2 separate regions of the Homo sapiens genome follow, and region 2 is linked to region 1. The links are contacts of gene promoters, found by promoter capture Hi-C in human tissues and cell types (Jung and others, 2019). All regions are on one chromosome and are shown on one strand. The core of a region is centred on a gene start or on the middle of the fragment in contact, and the rest is flanking DNA. Distances in the headings are between cores, read along the strand shown.

Region 1 (7,191 bases), core at 4,692-7,191:
CCCTTCTCAGGTCATCAAGCTATTCACCTCACAGTCTCATTCCTGTCCCAGTGTTTCAGCTATTCAGATCAGTCAGGACCTCTTTTCATCTACAGGAATGTTGATGTTTCTTGCCTCTTGTGCAGGCTTGAATCTGGGGGGGTGCTTCTCCTGTGGGGCTTGTGCTTACCCTGGATTGTTCCAGCAAGGCTGTCTATAGCTGCCTCTATGCTGCATTCCTGTGGAAGAAGCTTCAGCTGTGTCTGCAGTGTAGTGCCAGGGGGAACAAGGATGCCTTCTCTAGTGCCCTTCATAATCACACAGGCCACCTGCCTGTTGGGGTAGAGGTGCAGACTTTCTCTACTGTACCCAGCACTGCAATTGTGTCTCTGCTGTGAGAAACTTCCCACCAGTAGAAAGATCTGGAACTCACGGCCTGGTGTTTGGATTCTTTTGTCCCATGGGGTGACCCCTTGATGTGGTGCTCTCCCTCTTCCCCTAGGAATGGGGCTTCCTGAGAGCCAGACTGAAGTGATTGTTATTCCTCTTCTGGGTCTAGCCACCCAGCTAGGCTCTGAGCTGGTGCTGGGGAATGTCTGCAAAGAGTCCTGTGATGTGATCTGTCTTCAGGTTTCCCAGCATGGATACCAACACTTGTTCTGATGGAGGTGGCAGGGGAGTGATGTAGTCTGTGAGATTTCTTGGTTGTAGATAGACTCAGTGTGCTGGCTTTCTTGAATGCTGGTTATGCTAGCGGTGAAGTTGTCATGTGGACAGACTCAGGACCTTTAGTTAGCCAGGGTGTTGCAGTGAGTGGTATTAGCTGTTGTTTTCTCCTTCCTGGAAGAAGCGTTATTCTGCCAAGAGTTGCTGTAATGGCCTGAGTTGGCTGGCTTCCAGCCAGGAGGGGACACTTGCAAGAGAGCACCAGCTGTGGTAGTAGCAGTGACATTTGAGCTTGGCCTAAGTTGTCTAGGGGAAGTATTCTGGTTTCCCAGGCAATGGGCAGGGCCATAAGGCTCTCAAGAGTTTATGTCTTTTGTGTTAAGCTACAAGGCAGGTAGATAAATACCATCAGGTCGGGGCAGGGTTGGGCGGGCCTGAGTTCAGATTCTCCCTGGGCAAGGCCTGCCATGGCCTGCTGGGGGATAGGAGGGGTGGATCTCAGGCCAATGGGGTTATGTTCTAGAGGAGAGTATGGCTGCTTCTGCTGTGCAGTAGAGTTTGCAAGGGGAGTGGGGATTAGCTCATAGTGAAAGTCCTCATCCAGCTCCCACAGAGTTGGTGAGGCCAGTCTTGCTCCCATGGTGCCCCACTAACAGCACTGAGTTTAGATCCAGGCAGCTGGTGTGTAGAACTCAGACCTGCCCTGGGCCATGAGCTTCCCTGCTGAGGAAGAAAGCATGGCTTTCAGGTCACACCCCTCCCCATCTGCCTGCAATGCTGGGTGCCCAGCTTCTGCCCTTGTATCTGCATTAGTTTCCATTTGTCCGCCCACCCCTGGATTCTGTTCAAGGGTGCTCATGCCCACTTGAAATTACCACAAAACTCAGTTGGTAGCTTATTTCACTCTGTGACTCCTTCCTAAGTTTGGTGGCTGCCTTCCCTGAGGGCCCCTGTTAGATATGGTCAGGGATGGCTTCCCTGGGCTCAAGCTGGAGACTGAGAATGCCTCCAAGGCTCTTCTTGCTGCTGCTTCTACTTTTGTATTTTGTGCTGCTCCCTAAGTCCATTCCAGCTCTAGGTAAGGCTAAAGCCTTCTCCCATCATCTGGATTTTCAGATTCCACAGTAGGAATGTGTGTTCAGAGGCAGGCTCTCCCCTTTTCCTACACTGAGAATTCAGTTTTTTGCCTGTCTCACAGACTTTGCTGTGGTGTGCTCCTTTCATAGGATCTGCGAATTCTTTTGATTTCCTGGTAACTTCCTGCAGTGGTTCTTGGAATAAAAGTTCACAGTGTTAATTGCTACACACTGTTCTGTCCTTCCAAGTGGGAGAGGCACACTAGCACTGCCTACTACCTGCCATCTTAGAACAGATAGACAAACCAAAACATATTTTTTTTATTTTTAATTTTTTACTATACTTTGTTTTAGGGTACATGTGCACAACGTGCAGGTTAGTTACATATGCATACATGTGCCATGTTGGTGTGCTGCACCCATTAACTTGTTATTTAACATTAGGTAACCAAAACATATTTAAAAGGATGTAAATTTATTGCTAAGTGTGGACTCATGGAGGCCCCATATGGCCACCTGGTTCTTCCTGAGTCCTTAAATCTTCCATTATTAAAAACTCTGTACTCCATTACTCATCATGGGGTAGACAAAAAACTAGTTCTGGGAAGACCTATATCCTTAATAATAGACTCTCATGTATCTCCTGCTCTTATAAGCTTTGCTGTAACTAAATACTGCAAAGCTTTAATCCATTATATGAAAGTGTGTTTTCCCCAGGTAAAAGCCTTTTGTGATACACTGAGTACAACCAACCTTTCACAATCTAGAACTCAGAGATTGAGTCTTCTGGAAATAACATCCCATCTGAGAAAAACTGCTCTTGTATCCCATTAGAAGAGATTATATCATGTACTTCTCTCACCACCCACAGTAAAACTTCAGGGCCTCGAGTTTTGGTCCATACCTTGTAACTCAAAAGAGCCCCTTCAAACTCTTGGAATTATACACCTGTTGGAGATCTTAAGGTAGGGAAGTTTCTCCCCAGAAGCAGATGGCATCCTAGACATGGACAGCTTTCTCAAGATCATGGATCAAGACTTCTCTGCTATCATGACTATCTTATCTTTTTTTCTATTTTTTCCATATTTCCTGCTGGGAAATCCATGGGACCATAATTTATAGATGGCTTTAGCTAAGGCTCATGCTCTAACAAGAAAAACTAGAGCAACTGTTGGGTTTCTGGACTGATGCCAAAAAAAAAACCCCTAGGAAACAATTTTATTAATGCCAATGCCTCTCTGTGAAATGAAAGCCACCCTAAAACCTCAAAAGCAGATTGGAAAGCTATCTTTAATTTTGTAGATATCACTGCTACTTGCTTTCCTACACTTACTGAAAGCAATAACCCAACTTCTCCAATTAATAACCTACCAGCTACCAAATATAGAAAAGCTGAGTGATTCTTTTTTTTTTTTTTTTTTAGATTAACTTGCTTGGCTCCTTTATTATTCTCCTTTATTATTAAACTTCCTCAGCATAATGTGATTTGGGCAGACAGAGATGTTATCCTGTGGCTTATTGTTGGCCTACATTCTCTTTTTTTTTTTTAAATTTATTTTTTTTTTAGTATTTATTGATCATTCTTGGGTGTTTCTCGGAGAGGGGGATTTGGCAGGGTCATAGGACAATAGTGGAGGGAAGGTCAGCAGATAAACATGTGAACAAAGGTCTCTGGTTTTCCTAGGCAGAGGGCCCTGCCGCCTTCCGCAGTGTTTGTGTCCCTGGGTAGTTGAGATTAGGGAGTGGTGATGACTCTTAGCGAGCACGCTGCCTTCAAGCATCTGTTTAACAAAGCACATCTTGCACTGCCCTTAATCCATTTAACCCTTAGTGGACACAGCACATGTTTCAGAGAGCAGGGGGTTGGGGGTAAGGTTATAGATTAACAGCATCCCAAGGCAGAAGAATTTTTCCTAGTACAGAACAAAATGGAGTCTCCTATGTCAACTTCTTTCTACACAGACACAATAACAATCTGATCTCTCTTTCTTTTCCCCACATTTCCCCCTTTTCTATTGGACAAAACCGCCATCGTCATCATGGCCCGTTCTCAATGAGCTGTTGGGTACACCTCCCAGACAGGGTGGTGGCCGGGCAGAGGGGCTCCTCACTTCCCAGACGGGGCTGCCGGGCAGAGGGGCCCCCCACCTCCCAGACGGGGCGGCGGCCGGGCAGAGGGGCCCCCACCTCCCAGACGGGGCGGCGGCTGGGCAGAGGCGCCCCCCACCTCCCGGACGGGGCGGCTGGCCGGGCGGGGGCTGCCCCCCACTTGCCGGGCGGGGCGGCTGGCCAGGCGGGGGCTGCCCCCCCACCTCCCGGGCGGGGCGGCTGGCTGGGCGGCTGCCCCCCACCTCCCGGACCAGGCAGCTGCCCGGCGGAGGGGCTCCTCACTTCTCAGACAGGGCGGCCAGTCAGAGACGCTCCTCACCTCCCAGACGGGGTGGCGGCGGGGCAGAGACACTCCTCAGTTCCTAGACGGGTCGCCGCCGGGCAGAGGCATTCTTCACCTCTCAGACGGGGTGGTGGGGCAGAGGCGCTCCCCACATCCCAGATGATGGGCGGCCAGGCAGAGACGCTCCTCACTTCCTAGACGGGGTGGCGGCCGGGAAGAAGCGCTCCTCACTTTCCAGACTGGGCGGCTGGGCAGAGGGGCTCCCCACATCCCAGATGATGGGCGGCCAGGCAGAGACGCTCCTCACTTCCTATACGGCGTGGCAGCAGGGCAGAGGCTGCAATCTCGGCACTTTGGGAGGCCAAGGCAGGCGGCTGGGAGGTGGAGGTTGTAGCGATCCGAGATCAAGCCACTGCACTCCAGCCTGGGCAACATTGAGCACTGAGTGAGCGAGACTCCGTCTGCAATCCCGGCACCTCGGGAGGCCGAGGCTGGCAGACCACTCGCGGTCAGGAGCTGGAGACCAGCCCGGCCAACTCGGCGAAACCCCGTCTCCACCAAAAAATACGAAAACCAGTCAGGTGTGGCGGTGCGCGCCTGCAATCCCAGGCACTCGGCAGGCTGAGGCAGGGGAATCAGGCAGGGAGGCTGCCGTGAGCCGAGATGGCGGCAGTACAGTCCAGCCTCGGCTCGGCATCAGAGGGAGACCATGCAAAGGGGAGACGAGGACCGTGCAAAGGGGGGAGGGAGATGGGGAGGGAGACAGAGAGGGGGAGGGGGAGGGGAAAAGCTGAGTGATTCTTGCAAAAGGTATATATTATGCTTCCAGGCATCATATGCTCAAGACCTGGGGACTATGTGGGTATAAGTAACTGATTGTATAACGCCACTGGATGAAATCCAGTAATGTCCTTTTTCACTAAATGTGGTTATACACCCTTACAGCATGTTACAAAGGGAACACAAAAAAATAAGTTTCACACTGGACCTTGTTCAGGAGCAGTGTTGACCTATTTCACTGACCTATCCTCAACTGCCACTAGGTGGCCCTCTTTTCCAGCTTCCAAGGGCCTACATTGGGCCTATGCGGCCTCAGTATAGCCTCAGATTTCCTGCTATGAAGCTTAATGAGCCCAGCACTGGCTCTAGCTATGGTTTGTTCCTTTTTGGGTGGAGTGGATGTGTGGTTCTTGGAGAATCTACTACTTTCCCGTGAGTGCAGTGGGAGACTGCATTAGAGAATCTAGCTATCCTGACTGCCTAAACAGAGCCTACCATAATTTTTCACTCAAATCTTTAGTGTAAATATAATTGTCTTTGCTTTCTGTAATAATATCTTTGAAGAAATACGGATTTAAAAAAATCATTTAATATTCTCAGACCTGCAACATGGGAAAAATATTATTATTATTATTATCATTTTTGCAGTTGAGAGGGCTGAAATCTCGCAGGGTGATTAAGTTTATTAGCCTCTCTAAAGTCTCAGTTTCCCACTCTGTAAAATGGAAGGGTCCCTATCTCTTTCCTACTGCTTTGTGAGTATTTAAGGGGATGGAATTTGGGAAGCGCTCAGCACCCAGTCTACTATTGGCACAGGGTTTTAAAGCCACCCAGAGGCCGAGGCGTCAACCCTCCGTTTCCCTCCCGGTGCTCCTTCCAGCGCCCGGTGTGGTCGATTTGGCGGGGGTGGAGCGCCAGGCGCGTGCAGAGCCGGGCGGACCAGCCTCTCCGGCCAAGGCGGGAGGCGGAGCTCGTACTCAAGAGCCGCCTCCCGGGCGGCTGGGGCGGTCCCCGAGCTGCTTTCCGCGTTCTCCCCTCTCCGCGGGCAGTGCTAGCTCGCCGCGGCCGCCTCCGGGGTGAGTACGCTGGCTCCGCCGGCGCCCGGGAAATGCAGTTCCCTGGACACGGGCGCCGTGCGAGGGTAGCCGGGCGACGGCCGGGGTCAGTCCCAGGGCTGTAGCGGGGCGGGCGTGGGGATGACGTGGCGGCGTCCGTGGGGCAGTCCCGCCTCAGCCGGAGCGGTGGGCCGGGCCGGGGGCCTACGGAGGCCGAGCCTGGCGGGAGGCACCGGCTCAGGTGCTGGCGTTCCGCGCGGCGCCGCCTCTGCTGCGGGCCGGGGGAGCCAGACGAGGTGCTGCCGGGTAGGAAAAAATCCAGGGCTCATTCATACCCCAGGTCACGATTCCGGGGTCGCCCCCAGCACTTCTCCGCCGGGTGCATCAACCTGAAAAAGCCCCTTCTTCCTGGAAACCCTCCTTCTCCAGCGTTTCAACGGGGAAACTGATCAGCTGACACCAGCCCCAGTCCTGCGAGGGGCCGGCGACCTTTGACCTTTCTCCAAAGGGGTTGGTCACCTGGATTATAAAAGACTTCGGAGACAGCCATCCAGTGTTTGTTGATCTGTATCCCTTGATGTTCTGTCTTCCATTAGATAAGGGCTGTTAATTCTTGGTTTGAAAAAAAACAGACAAAGTCCAAAGGACTCTGCATCGAGGAGAGGCCTATGGGTTGGTAGCCTTAGGAGAGTAGTTATCAACAGTGGGTGGGTGTGCACACTGTTGCAAAGTGTTCCAGAGTGGGTGAGGGATGGGGACGTGGCGGTGGTGAGGGTACTGGTAGACCTCCTCAGCCGTTTGGTGATGAAAAGGAGGAAAAAGAAAATGGTAATCTGAGCGTGGAGGCGAGTTGTGGCTTTTTTTTTTTTTTTTAAATTTTTAAAGAAAGGAAAATAACACCTTTAAGATGCAAGAAAATCAAGGAGAGATCAGGATGAATAGGATTCAGGGTCCGGATTGAGAAACTGGGATTCAGAAGGGAGGGCTATTCCCGAGACCCAGGCGGGGAGTGCTGGAAGGTCTCTCTTGGGAGAGGAGATAATGCTTGATTGGATATAGTTCAGAAGTTTTTGGAATTTTGTCTTCTAGAGCAGGTTTGTTCTTTATGGAAATTGTAAACCCCATGAAATTGCAATAACTTTCGTCTACCTATAGCTTTGATCAGATTGAAAACATACGTTGTGAAAAAGTACTGACCTGGATTGAACTGTTTGACTACATAATCTAAGGGGAAGTGGATAGA
Region 2 (7,191 bases), core at 3,472-5,971, 150 kb before region 1:
CTGCAGAGAAACGCAGAGGGTAGTCAGTGTGTCTCTGGCTTAGCCTCACACCAGGCTGCTTTGGTGAGATGGGGAAAGAGGAGCACTAGGCTGCGTCGAGACAGCCTGGCACCCCAGGGGTCACCATGGAGGCCTTGCCCTGCTGTGGCTCTGCCCAGCCATTGGAATGTATGAAGTTTCAGGATGAAAACCTGCAATCTGTGGGTCCCACAAAGGACCTATTCTCCGCAGGGCTCTCGTGGAACATCCAGATCTCAAGCCCACCATGTTTGTTGTTGTTGTTGTTGTTGTTGAGACAGGGTCTCGCTCTGTTACCCAGGCTGGAGTTCAGTGGTGCAAACAAGGCTTACTGCAGTCTTGACCTCTTGGGCTCAAGCAATCCTCCTGCCTCGGCCTCCCGAGTAGCTGGGACTACAGGCACATGCCACCACACCCGGCTGATATTTTTATATTTTGTAAAGACTGGGTTTCACCATGTTGCCCAGGCTGGTCTCAAACTCCTGGGCTCAAACGATCCTCCCACCTTAGCCTCCCAAAGTGCTGGGATTACAGGTGTGAGTCATCATACCTGGACCCAGGATGTTTTTATGATCCATCTGAGATAGCTTTGCAGTGCTTGGTGGTTTCCTCTGGACTTGGCCCACATTTTGTCAAGCTTTTATCCTTGGGTAATATTTTATAGGGTAGCGTACCTTTGGGTATGGTGCACCCGAGATGTGGTTGAAAGCACAGAGAAAATGCATTTGGTAGTCTTTCCAAGGTATTCTTCCTGATCTCTGGAGGATCAGGGAGAAATGAGACTTATTCTCCAGGGACTTAGGGAAAGGAGCAGTGGGGCTGAGTCTCAAGAAAACACGATCCATATATTTTCCAGCACACAGATGGGTTTCTCACCAGGTGAGTTCCAGATATGCCATTCCTATAGCATGCAGCATGACTGGCATCTCCTAGTTGTGCAAGGTGGCAGCCTGTGCAAGAGGTGCCTGTTTTCATACCTGTTTTCACTGACCAAAGAGTGGGAATGACACCTTCAATGGAAAGGTTGCCTTTCAGCCCCTCCACCTACAATCTGCTTAGAATTTAGGACTCCTGTTCAATCCCCGCTTCTTTCTACTATGGGATATGAGTGACGGCGGGGGGGAGGGGGGGGTAGAGACCCAGGTGGCAACAGAAGAAGTGACAGGGAGAAATGAGGAAAGAAAATATTCTACCAATGAAAACAATGCTTGATTTATTTTGGAGATGAGGGAAGGCTCTGACAGACTCTGACAAGGATGCCAGGTTTGCATGTCCCCAACTGCTGCTCACCCAGAGCTATCAGCCTAGTGACACCATTTGTCAACCCTATGCTTTTTGTATCGTCACGTGGGGATGGAGGGTCGGGGAGGGGGTCGAAGTTTTGTTTTTAGTAAACTTCCTTTTGTAAACACCAAGCCTGATTTGTCTACACTAAAAAGACAGGAATTTCAGTCATGACTTGTGATGTGACCCCTATAATACTCTCCCAAAATGGTGCTTGATCAATGGGAGATCAGGGGTCTTGTTAACTTTGGGGCAGTGCATGCATAAAGGCATCAACTGCTGGTGAGAGAGTTGTAGAGACAGCTCCCTTCTCTTCTGGAATGTTTCCTTAAACCCCAACCCAGACGGTACCTCCAACCCACACTGCCATCTTGGTCCTGAGACTGTATACCTCTCCTCCTCTTTCCTCTTCAACCACACATCTCCTAGAATTTTTTAAAAGAGTGCCACTTACTTGTTGTCTGGTAACTCAAGGACAGTGTGGAAGAGGGTGCCCATGGGAGGGACAATCTCAGGCAGGCTGTTCTCCCTCCTTTCCTTGCGAGCAGGATGGTTAGTGGCCAGGCTGCGGGCTTGAGCTTCCTCAAGGCTCACCAGCTTCATGGGCAGGGAGAGGGCTGGCAAGGTCAGGCTCTTCATGATGGGCCGGTTTTCTGTAAAGGCAATGGAAGAGCTCAGTGTTGGAGGAGGCCTGCCCATCACATCCATCCAGATTCCCCATCCACAGTCCCTCCATTCTTGATCCTATGATGGGGGCTGAGTGCCACCCTGGCTTCTCTTGGGCATGGTGGGGCCTGGGGCTGAGGCTGCACACCGGAAACTGATGACTGTCCTGGCCAGACCTGCCAGAGGACAAACAGGGGCTTCAGGAGGTAGCTGCACCTTCCATACTTTTCAGAGAGGGACCACTCACTCATCCATTCATTCATTCCTATAACAAACATTTATTGAACACTCACTGTGAGCCAGAGTGACAACAATGAGTCTTTACTCCTGAAAACTCTGCCCAGTGCTTCGGCCAGATGGGAATATGTCTGTCCAGCCACAGAGATAGCCTAACTGCCAGAGTAGGGCAGGAGGCTGCCTCTCCTCCCCACAGCTGGACAGCACATGCTCCAAGGCCATTTCAAGTTAGAACCTCTACTTTTCAGATCATCTAGGCTTATATCCCTGCCACAGGAAGATATTTTACAGCCTATACTATTTCCTGTGGTTTTTTTACTCACTACCCAGTTGTCTCCTAGTGTATGTAGCTGATCCTTTCCTATTCTATGGCATTTTTTTTTTTAAAGAATGGAAGTGATGATGACAATCGCTGATGCACAGGATTATCTCTTTTCTCCAAGTCAGTGGTTCTCACCTTGAGGTGATTTTGTGTACCACTCCCCTCCACACCCAGGGACATCTGGCAATGTCTGGAGATATTTTTGATGGTCATCAATGTGTGTGGCAGTGCTACTGGTGTCTAGTAGGCAAAGGCCAGGGATGCTGTTAAGCGTCCTGCAATGCACAGAGCAGTGCCTCACAATAAGAATCATCCAGCACTCAATATCAATAGTGCTGAGGTTGTGAAGCTGATCTAAGTTAAAAAATAGTCTAAGTTTGCTTCTATTTAGTTTTTGGTGACCTTGCCAGTTTTCTATGACTTCTGAAATAGTAAAAAGACTCAAGGATAATTTAGACCAATTGAAATTACTTTTGGTGGAGGACTCACTGTATTTTCAGAAAGCAGATTGATGGCACTATTTCTCTTTGCAGAGCATGACCCTCTGTGGGTGGGAAGAAGTAAAACCATTGAAAAAGGGCCTCACAGAAAATGAAGACAACTGTTATGTGACAATGGGGTGTTTCTGGGGAGGACTAGCATGGATGGCACTAATTCAGTAGGACTACTGTTAAATATAGCCTGGGATCCTGAAAACTTTTCAGTAAACTTTCTGACTTTAACACAGTCTTTTGACCCGATCCAAAGAGGGTTAAAAATATTTAAATTTAATCTACTTTGAATATTTGTTCAAAGACTCTCACATATTCTAGATTATTTGTGATTATGTATTTGCTTAAAAATACATAAAAATAAATACATACATTAACTCACTCTGGGAGCAACTGCAACAATGGGAAGAACATAAACTGCAGGGTCAGAAGACCAAGTTTAGTGCCCACCTCTCCTGTCAGCTCCAGGCTCCTAGGACTAAGGCCCGCTTAGTGTCTCTGATTAGATGGTTTTTTTTGTTTGTTTGTTAGTTGGTTAAGTTTTTGTTTTTTTGTTTTTTTTAAACGGAGTCTCGCTCTGTCGCCCAGGCTGGACTGCAGTGGTGCAATCTCGGCTCACTGCAACCTCCGACTCCTGGGTTCAAGTGATTCTCCTGCCTCAGCCTCCTGAGTAGCTGGGACTACAGGCACCCACCGCCATGCCAAGCTAATTTTTTGTATTTTCTAAAATAGTAATGGGGTTTCTCCATGTTGGCCAGACTGGTCTCGAACTCCTGACCTCAAGTGGTTTGCCCGCCTCAGCCTCCCAAAATGCTGGGATTGCAGGTGTGAGCCACCGCGCCTGGCCCCTGCTTAGGCATCTCTAACTTTACATTTTGTAACAGAGCTTGCGATCTGTGCTCCTCTGCTCTACTGTGGTACCTCCTCTCATCTTCTTTGTGTCAGTAGGTGGCACCACGGACCACCCAGTGCCCAAGCTAAAGCCTGGGGTTGTTATTTCTTATTTATTCTTTTCCTTAATGCATCTCTCCTTCCATAGACAGCCTATAAGCAAGGCTCGTAACTCTACCTCCAAAATACATCCGGAACCCAGCCACTTTCCTCCTTCCCACTGCTAAGATGCTGGTAGAGGCTGCCATGATTTCCCATCTGCTTTTGCCATAGCTTCTTAACTGGTCTCCCCGCTTCCAGCCTCTCAGCCTCTCCTCCACACAGGAGCTGGAAGGCTTAGATCCTGCACTGGCCTGCTCAAAACCCTCCAATGCTTTCCCAAGGCACTGAGAACAAACCCGTCTCTTCGCATGACCTAAAAGGATATTTCATCTGCTTCCCCTTTCCTGTTTGCCCACTGGCCCAGTAGTCTACAAAAATATAGCAAACATTTTAAAATGTGTACATATATATATATATATAAAAATTATACATATACATATTATATGTATACATATATGCCACTGTGTGTCATGCGTAATAGCAAATATATAAAAAAAATAGAAATTACACAGTATAAGACAAAAATAAATGGAAAACAGAAATTTGAACAGTTTCTCCCAACACCCATAACTCATTACTTTGGTCTTTGGTACCCACCAGAGTGGGGCACCCCACTTTGAAGGCCACATTGGTTCCAGCCACATTGGCCAATGTTCTGCAACACTTCAAGCTTTCTGCCTCAGAGCTTTTACAACCTCTGTTCTCTGTCTTTGGAACATTTGCTCATAGATCCTCACATGCCTGGTTCCCCATGTCATTCAGGTCTCACTTCAAAGATCACTTCTCTAGAAACCTTGACCACTCTGTCCCAAAATTATACCCCCAAGTCACTGACTATTGCCTTACTCTGCTATGTTTTCTTCTTGGTATTTATTGTCTTTGAAGTGATAATATATTTATTTGTAAACTTATATATCCTTGTCTTCCCAACCAGACCATAGTTCTATGCCACGGAGTTTCTGTCATTTTGGGCACTGATGTGTCTCCAGTGTCTAGAACAGCACCTAGTTCATAGGAGATATTCAATACACATTTATTTTTTAGTGAATATTAGAGATATCACAATCTCTTTGGCCTCAGTGTTCTCATCTATCAAATAAAAGTATTGGATTCAATGCCTTCTGCTATGCTGTGAATGTTTCTGTCCCCTCAAAATTCATATGTTAAAATAGAATCCTCAAAGCTGTGGGCGGCAAGCCACCCAGGCACCGAGGCAAGAGACAGAGGACACGAGCTGTTCCAGTATAATAAAATATAAAACAAGAATAGTTATACCAGATATAGATCTTAGATATGATTATATATGAATATCATTAATCATTAGTTTGTAGCAATTACTTTTTATTCCAATATTATAATAATCCTCGCTCTATAATCATAGCCTAGGAAAAACCAGGCCATATAGAGATAGGAGCTGAGGGGACATAGTGAGGTGTGACCAGAAGACAAGAGTGCGAGCCTTCTGTTATGCCCGGACAGGGCCAGCAGAAGGGCTCCTTGGTCTAGCGGTGAAGCCAGCGTCTGGGAAGACGCCCGTTACCAGGCGGACTGTGGTCCAGCGGTAGCAAAAGGTGTCAAGGAACAACACCCACTACTTAGCAGACCGGGAAAGGGGGGTCTCCCTTTCCCCGGGGGAGTTTAGAGAAGACCCTGCTCCTCCACCTCCTGTGGAGGGCCTGACATCAGTCAGGCTCGCCCGCAGTTATCTGGAGGCCTAACCATCTCCCTGTGATGCTGTGCTTCAGTGGTCACACTCCTAGTCTGCCTTCATGTTCCATCCTGTACACCTGGCTCTGCCTTCTAGATAGCAGTAGTAAATTAGTGAAAATACTAATAGTCCCTGATATGCAGAAATAATGGCATAAGCTGTCTCTCTGTCTCCTCTCCTTCTCTGTCTCAGCTGCCAGGCAGGGAAGGGCCCCCTGTCCAGTGGACACGTGACCCACGTGACCTTACCTATCGTTGGAGGTGACTCACATTCTTTACCCTGCTCCTTCTGCCTTGTATCCAATAAATAACAGCGCAGCCCGACATTTGGGGCCACTACTGGTCTCCGCACATTGGTGGTAGTGGTCCCCCGGGCCCAACTGTCTTTTCTCTTATCCCTTTGTCTTGTGTCTTTATTTCTACACTCTCTCGTCGCCGCACACAGGGAGAGACCCACTGACCCTGTAGGGCTGGTCCCTACAAAAGCAATAGAATTAAGAGGTGAGGTCTTTAGGAGGTGATTAGGTCATGAGGGTGGAGCCCTAATGAATGGGATTAGTAATCTTATAAAAGAGGCCCAAGGGAGCTTGTTTCACCTTTCCCCATGTGAGAACACAGTGAGAAGGTGCTGACTGTGGTGTATGGGCCCTCACCAGACACTGAATCTACCGGCCCTTGGATCTTGAAATTCCCAGCCTCCAGAAGTGAGAGAAATAGGTTTATTGCTTATAAGCTAACCAGTTCATGGTATTTTTTTTATAGCAGCCCAAATGGACTAAGAAAACTTCTAAAATCTTTTCAGTTTGAAGCAGAACTCTGTCCAAATCTAAAATTCCAGAGAATAGGGCTTATTCCATTTTGTGTAAATATTAAGTATGGCAATTTATTGAAGTCAGTAAGAATTTATAATAAGAACCTTTAAATGAAATGTATGTGAATAATAAGCACTGGAGGCAATGAAGAGTTAAAGGCTAAAGAGTAAACTGGATTTTAATATGCAGGACAAAAAGATGGTTAAGGCAATAGCCATAAAGAGAAAAGGCATTTTCAGGTTGGAATTAGGAACAGCCTTAACATTAACAGTCATGGATGGGATTTGCTGTCCAGAAGAACATTTCCCAAAAACCCTAGTTCTCCACAATGATTTAGTTATCTATTTTCATATTCTTTTCCTCACAGAGGCAGAATAGAGTTAAGGAAAGAGCATGGGCTAAAAGATTTGGGTTCAGTAGTCCACACGCAGCGAATTACTTACTAGGTGGCTTTGGGAAGTTACTAAGCTATTCTGGTTCTCTGGTTCTTCATGTATAAAATAAGGTTGATAACAACTTTATCATGTTTGCTGTAATAAATCAATGAAATGCTGCATGTGGAATACCTACAACAGTTCCTGCTGTAGAGTAAATCCCCAATAAATTTTTTGTGGGCTCAAAAGGGTGAATGAATAAATGTATGCATATTACTTCTCTTTTA

The links. The method cuts DNA at HindIII sites, captures the fragments that hold promoters and counts their contacts. A contact is called where the count stands out against the background at its distance.
Region 2: a contact is called between a fragment that was not itself captured here and the fragment with the promoter of B4GALT4 in region 1, in 1 of the 25 tissues and cell types used here (H1 embryonic stem cells).

What each region holds. Positions count from the first base shown.
Region 1 is chr3:119,239,628-119,246,818 of GRCh38, reverse strand. It overlaps B4GALT4 (beta-1,4-galactosyltransferase 4), which reads left to right and starts at 5,941. Exons shown (of 8, transcript NM_003778.4): 1 at 5,941-5,969. The region is part of intron 3 of B4GALT4-AS1 (B4GALT4 antisense RNA 1); the gene reads right to left. RefSeq lists silencers at 5,075-5,124, 5,775-6,254. The HindIII fragment of the contact is 14,454 bases long and covers 3,821-7,191 here.
Region 2 is chr3:119,385,549-119,392,739 of GRCh38, reverse strand. ARHGAP31 (Rho GTPase activating protein 31) reads right to left here. Exons shown (of 12, transcript NM_020754.4): 7 at 1,757-1,955. Among named protein-coding and RNA genes, the nearest start is that of ARHGAP31-AS1, 66 kb to the right of the region's middle. The HindIII fragment of the contact is 4,105 bases long and covers 2,669-6,773 here.